2 separate regions of the Homo sapiens genome follow, and region 2 is linked to region 1. The links are contacts of gene promoters, found by promoter capture Hi-C in human tissues and cell types (Jung and others, 2019). All regions are on one chromosome and are shown on one strand. The core of a region is centred on a gene start or on the middle of the fragment in contact, and the rest is flanking DNA. Distances in the headings are between cores, read along the strand shown. Region 1 holds the start of NRARP (NOTCH regulated ankyrin repeat protein). Region 2 holds the start of PNPLA7 (patatin like domain 7, lysophospholipase).

What was found. Contacts are between HindIII fragments. The study calls those that stand out against the background at their distance.
Region 2: a contact is called between the fragment with the promoter of PNPLA7 here and the fragment with the promoter of NRARP in region 1, in 2 of the 25 tissues and cell types used here (IMR-90 fibroblasts and dorsolateral prefrontal cortex).

The regions. Positions count from the first base shown.
Region 1 is chr9:137,300,166-137,304,368 of GRCh38, forward strand. NRARP (NOTCH regulated ankyrin repeat protein) reads right to left here and starts at 2,106. Exons shown (of 1, transcript NM_001004354.3): 1 at 1-2,106. The coding sequence starts at 1,763. The coding sequence ends at 1,419. RefSeq lists silencers at 964-1,013, 1,134-1,193, 1,264-1,343, 2,026-2,665 and an enhancer at 1,405-2,323. The HindIII fragment of the contact is 30,312 bases long and covers 1-4,203 here.
Region 2 is chr9:137,549,152-137,551,651 of GRCh38, forward strand. PNPLA7 (patatin like domain 7, lysophospholipase) reads right to left here and starts at 1,251. Exons shown (of 35, transcript NM_001098537.3): 1 at 1,017-1,251. The coding sequence starts at 1,046. RefSeq lists an enhancer at 360-861 and a silencer at 2,050-2,500. The HindIII fragment of the contact is 18,703 bases long and covers 1-2,500 here.

The sequences.
Region 1 (4,203 bases), core at 856-3,355:
AAACCAGGAAGGGCGCCTTTCAGGACAGAAAGTGACGCAGGAGAACCTCCCCGGGCCCAGGTCTCGACGCAACCCCTCCCCCACGGCAGGATTTCGGGTTCGAATTGAGTCCTCGAAGCTCTGGGAGGCTAAAAAGGGGCAAAACGATCCTTCAATTAACTCAGCCATTAGCACAAGAGATTCACAGTCTTATAGGTATTTTATAAAAATATAAATATGGGTACACTCTGTTGCCTTCACAACGCTGGATACATCGCCCTTTAAAATTGGGTTTATAACCAAGATTCAAAAAATACACCTAAAACTTGGCTTAAAATATGTTAATATTTTATATTCTGTCATAAATGTTATGACATTTAATTGTGGCAAATCCATTTACTTTTTTTAAAAAAGTGTGCAACCGTTAACTATGATAGAACGCACTAGAAAAGGTAACGAACCTTCACCCACCCCCCCGTGTCCCCGCCACCCTCGAGCGCCAGCGAGCTTCCAGGATCCTGGGGAAACTGCAAAACAAGCCGGTTTGGGGGATGGTGGCCTCATCCAGGAGGGGCGGGGGAGAGAGGCCCTGGGGCTTCCAAAACTCACGGATTTGAGGGAGAGGGAGAAGGAGGGAGGGGGAACAGAACGGGGTGGGGAGGTAGACGCGGGGAGAAGGGAAGGGGGAGGGACAGCACGGGAACACCATCAGGCTGGGCGGTATTTTCAGTGCAACCAAGAAATGGTAGACTCAAGTTTTTAGTTTTAAGACTAGAAAAAAATGCATCACTCCCCCCCATAACCACATTGACCACGCAGTGTTTTCCAAACAAAAAAACCAGGCGCACAAACTCCACCCACAAATGTACACACACAAGATAAATAGTTTAGAACACCAGCAACAGCGAACAGCCGAGCGTCTCCTCGGCCGCGCGCCAGCGGCGCGGACCTCGGACCTCGGGGCTGCTCCTCGGCTGCAGCCGGCATCGGCGCGTCCCGGGCCTGCGGGCGGGTCCTGAAGGCGGCGGCGGAGCGCTCCGAGTCCGCCTTCGGCTCCCGCCGCCCGCCTTTCACCTTCGGGAGAAAACATTTTGCGCAGAGGATCCGGTATCTCGGGATTCCGAACTTGCTGGTTGCGAGACTCAAATTTCAAAAGGGGCTGGAGCCCGCGCCCCGCCCCCACCCGCGAGGCGGCGGGCAGGCGAGCGGGTGGGGGCCGTGGGAAGCTGCTCCGGCCCGGCCGGGCCCGGCTAGGCCGCAGGGAGGCGCTCGGCCGGCGGGGCTGCCGGACCCTGGGGCCGGGACGCACGCGCCGTATTCGCCGTGGCCACGGGCCTTCTGGCGGGGCCTGCGAGCCGGGCGCGCACCGAGGTAGTTGGCGGGAAGGTACAGCAGAGACGACGCGGGCGCAGGGCCGGGGTCCGGGGTCCCGGCGGGCATCACCGGCCGCTGGCCGCGTACTTCGCCTTGGTGATGAGATAGAGCACGATGTCCTGGTGGCCACCGAACGCGGCGATGTGCAGCGCGCTCCAGCCGTCGCGGTTGGCCAGGCGGATGTCGGCGCCGAACTTGACCAGCAGCTTCACGAGCTCCAGGTTGCCGTCGATGACCGACTGGTGCAGCGCCGTCTGGCCCTCGGGCCCGAACGAGTTCACGTTGAACTCGCAGTTGGTCATGTTCTGCAGCAGCGACTGCAGCTCCTGCGTGTTGCCCTTGCGCACAGCCTCCTGGAAGATGCGCTGCGTCTGCGGCGCGGAGCAGGTGGACAGCTCGGCCTGGCTCATGCTGCCGCCGGGCGCGGGCCGCGGGCCGGGCCGGGGCTCAGCGCGGGCGGCGGCTGCGGCGCGGGCCCCCGGCTGTCTCGGGGCGCGCCTCGGCGCATGGAGGGCGCGGCGTCCCCGGGCCCCGCACGCCGCCTCTGGGCGCTCCGGGCGCTCGGGGCCGGGGGTCGCCGCCGCGGGGACCCCGCCGCATCCAGCCGCGCCCGGGTGGGCGACGGGGGCGCGCGCTCGGCTCGCGGGGGCCGGGCCCGGCCGGGGACGGCGGCGCCGCGCGGTCCCGGTCCCTACTCGGTTCGGCTGCGGCTCCCACGCGGTCCCAAGGCGCCTCCCCACGCGCCGCAGCACTAGCTCGCCCGCCGCGCCGGGGCGCCTTTTACCTTCTTTATATTTGCATAACAATGGCAGCCCGTGACGCGCGCGCCGGCGGCCCCGGGATTGGGCCGCGCCCACATGGGGGCGGGGCGTGGGCGGTGCCGTGCGCAGGGGTCCGGGGGCGGGTCCCGGCGGCGGCGCGCTTCGCGGCAGGGGGCGCTGGTCGCCGGCAGCGCCTGGGCGGGGGAGGCCAGGTGGCCGCCGGGGGGGTCCAGCTCCGTCGCCGCCGCCGTCCGCGCGCCCCCCGGGCGCTCCGCGTCTCTTTGCGGTCGTCCCGCCCCTTCTCCCTCCGGCCACCCGGGGAATTCCAAGCTCCCTCAGCAGCCAGACCCAGGCCTTGCCCGGTACCCGAGCGCGACCGCCAGGTGGCCCCGAGGGCGGCCTCTCCCGGGCAGGGGGTTCGCGGGCATCTCAGGCCCGTGGCGAAGGAGAGACCCCTCTGAGCGGAGAGGCGCGCGGCGACCCCGGCCAGCCCGCGCCTCCGGGCTCACCGTCCACGCGGGTGGCAACTCCAGGCCCTGACGTGGGGCCTTCAGCCACGCGGGTCCTTCCCGCGCGCGGGCAGCCTCATGGCCGCCGGCTCAGCCTATGTGTGCCCCAACCGTACTGATGCGAGGGGCCTCCGGCCGGCCACCGCGGCTTCTATCGCCTGGCGGTGAAGGGGGTTCCGCTGTCCTCTCGGGAGGAAGCCCCGGGCCGGGGCGCAGCGGGAGGGTCGGGACCGCGGCCTGCCTCCCTCTGCTGCCCACGCACCAGCATGCGGGACACATAGGTCCTGCCCAGGTGAGCAGGGCTAGGTGTGGCGCCAGGGCCAGAAGGGAATTCTGAAACGCCTGGCTTCCAAACTGTAAAACCCATTTTTATTGACCACTCTAACAATTGACCGGGAGGCACTAGCAGGGGAAGCACAGCGCATTTCCTCATTAGAGTTTTACAGTTTACAACTCGCTGTGGTCGTTGGAAATTAAGGAGGAGTGATTCTCAGGCGCGGAGCAGGAGGCCAGGCAGGCTGGGGCTTGAATTCCTTCTGAAGCCAAGCCGGGAATTCCGCGCAGGCAGCTCTGAGCTCGGGCTGGGGAGACCCCCATGCCAGGCCTTGTCTGAGGAGGCTTCCGCCCACCAGCTCCATGTCCCCACATCCGGCTCCCCACAGGGGTGTGTCCCCACCCCATGCTGTGCCCATACTGGCAGGAAAAACTGGGCAGGCTCCCTTCGGGACAGACCCTGGCTGACCGGAGCAGGGTCCTGAGGCCCTGGGGTCCTCCTGGTGGGCTGGGAACCTCTGTCCCTCAAAGGCACAGCTCAGAGCTCGCTCTGGTCTTCCTGGGGCCGTGATCCCGCTGGTTCTGTTCAGCTCTCTCCTTTGGGCCTCACTGCTTCTCCCAGGAGCTCTCAAGGGGGCCACGGAGGGTGGAGGGGTGCTCCCCAATATGCAGGTGAGGACACAGTGGAGTCCCGGAGTAGGCCCCCAGCAGAACAGAGATGGGCGCTGTGGAGCCCAGGCCCGGGGCAGGGATGGCATGGCCTGGCCTGCCGTGCTCTGCTGGGCACCTTTGGCCTCTTAAGGAGGGGGAGCCGCTGGGCTGCCTGCTGGTCCCTGGTGCTGGCTGTGTCTCTGGACCTCAGACCAGGGCTGGGTGTGCAGGGTGCTCTGAGCTCACTGTCAGGAGGGCAGGAGCTCTGTCCTGGGCATTGATGGATTTTGTGCATATGCCCAGGGCCCAGCCAGGCTAGACTGGCAAGAGGCAGAGGGCATGACTGGGGGGTGGGCAGAGCCCTTGGTGCTCAACAGGCACAGGGCCTCCCCTGGAGGGTGGGTGGTTTGCAAACAGGCCGAAGCCCAGGTGGGCTCAAGCCGGGCCTGGAGAAGGCATTTGGCTATGCTGTGGGCCAGGAGCAGGGCCTGGGAGAAAGTGCCGTCGGCATCCGTGGCGGCGGCAAACAAAGGGGCCCTGTGTGAGCTCGGTGTGGGAACGCGGGGCCCCGCCACGGGCGTGAAATCGGCAGCGGCCCCTGGCGAGGGCCAGGCGGTGCGGGCGCCCCGGCAGGCACAGTGAGGCTGGTGTGGCGG
Region 2 (2,500 bases), core at 1-2,500, 250 kb after region 1:
AGGCCTTTGCCATGTGGCTACAGATGTTTGACTAAGAAAAAGATTCTAGGGCTGGGCACAGTGTCTCACGCCTGTAATCCCAGCACTTTGGGAGGCCGAGGCGGGCAGATCATGAGGTCAAGAGTTCAAGACTAGGCCGGGCACGGTGGCTCATGCCTGTAATCCCTGCACTTTGGGAGGCCAAGGCGGGCGGATCACGAGGTCAGGAAATCGAGACCATCCTGGCTAACACAGTGAAACACCGTCTCTACTGAAAATACAAAAAAATATTAGCCGGGCGTGGTGGTGGGCGCCTGTAGTCCCAGCTACTTGGGAGGCCGAGGCAGGAGAATGGCGTGAACCTGGGAGGCAGAGCTTGCAGTGAGTTGAGATCGTGCCACTGCAATCCAGCTTGGGCGACAGAGCAAGACTCCGTCTCAAAAAAAAAAAAAAAAAAAGTTCAAGACCAGCCTGGCCAACATGGCGAAACCCCGTTTCTACTAAGAATACAAAAATTAGCCGGGCGTGGTGCCTGTAGTCCCAGCTACCCGGGAGGCTGAGGCAGAATTGCCTGAACCCAGGAGGCGGAGGTTGCTGTGAGCCAAGATCACACCATTGCACACCAGCCTGGGCGACAGAGCGAGACTCCGTCTTGGGAAAAAAAAAAACACAGAAAAAGGTTCTAAGCAAAACCATCAGGCAAAGTCCTAAAGGAACTGGAAGTAGCAACTGTGACCTTAGGGGAAGAAAAGACAAGGCCTCAGGCAATGCCCATGGGCCACCGCTGGCTGCCCTCGCTGTGAACAATGCCCATGGGCCACCACTGGCTGTCTGCTGTGACAGGCGCGTCTAACAAGTGCTGGCAGCTGTGACAGGCAGCAGAGAGGGGCCAGATCCACCACTCCCACAGTCCTCAGGCGCCAAGAAGCCACGGGGCCAAAGAGCGCGGCAGAGCAGACGCCAAGAGGACCCTTCTCTGGGTCCAGAAATGCCCCCCAACTGGGAAATCCAGGCATCTGGTCCCCCGAGTTACATACCTGTGGGCTGTCATCTTTCTCTTCCTCCATGGCCAGAAACAGAAAAAACAGTCAGGGGCGAAAAGCAGACAGCCTGAAGCAAACAAGGGCACACCTCTACCCGCTCATGCTCACACCTGGACACTTTTCCCTGGGTTCCTTTCAAGTCAAATTATGTTTCACTGAAAGGAAAATCCTGCTGAAAAAGTCTGTTCTCCAGGAAGAAAAGCTGTCTTTTGAGAAGTGTCTGTCATCTGCTAGGAGCCACCTCCTTCCCTCTGTAAACAGCCCTCACGTGGCTGTCCCGGAACCCAGAACAGCAGCCAGATGGGGCGTATCCAAGCAGGTCAAGAGGAGCCAGGCCCAGCGCGGCGGGGATGGGGGCAGCGCTGCCTTCTGGAGAAGCACGGCTGGAGGGGAGGTGACGCTGGCGGGGCGTGGATCCGGGGTGTGGGGATGCAGCTGGGGAGGAGGGTGCAGCTGGGGAGGGGGTGGATCCGGCGTGTAGGGGTACCGCTGGGGAGTGGGTGCAGCTGGGGAGGGGGTGGATCTGGGGTGTGGGGGTGCCGCTGGGGAGTGGGTGCAGCTGGGGAGGGGGTGGATCCGGCGTGTAGGGGTACCGCTGGGGAGTGGGTGCAGCTGGGGAGGGGGTGGATCTGGGGTGTGGGGGTACTGCTGGGGAGAGGGTGCAGCTGGGGAGCGCGTGGATCCGGCGAGTGGGGGTACCGCTAGGGAGGGGGTGCAGCTGGGGAGGGGGTGGATCTGGGGTGTGGGGGTGCCGCTGGGGAGGGGGTGCAGCTGGGGAGGGGGTGGATCTGGGGCGTGGGGGTGCCGCTGGGGAGGGGGTGCAGCTGGGGAGGGGGTGGATCTGGGGCGTGGGGGTGCCGCTGGGGAGGGGGTGCAGCTGGGGAGGGGATGGATCTGGGGTGTGGGGGTACCGCTGGGGAAGGGCGTGCAGCTGGAGAGGGGATGGATCTGGGCTGTGGGGGTGCCGCTGGGGACGGGGTGCAGCTGGGGAGGGGGTGGATCCGGATTGTGAGGGTGCGGCTGGGGGGCGACTTCCGCGTGGGGTGAGAGGTCGCCTGCGAGGGTGACCGGGCAGGAGGGCTCAGTGCGCAAGCCGGACGTGCTGGGTCCAAGATTATTGATTAATTTGGGCACCGCGAGGGCTCGAGTCCCCCCACACCACTGCCCGGCCTGCGGGGGAGCACAGACAGCCCGGGCCCTCCCGGCTGCAGGTCCCGGGCTTTCCCCGCGCGGTTGCCGGCTCCGCCCAGAGGAGCCGCGCCCGGCGGAGGGGTAAGAAAGGCAGGGTCGCGGCGTCAACGCGGCGGCCGTCTCGAGTCCAGGGCCCGCGTCCTCCCCGACCTCCCGACGCCACCTCACGGCCTCAGGGGGACTGGGCTCCCGGGAAACCGCCGGCCACCTGGCGGACGAACACAGGCAGTGGCGGGCAGTGGAGACGCCAGGGACCACCGCGCTGAGAGCGATCACTCATCCGCCAG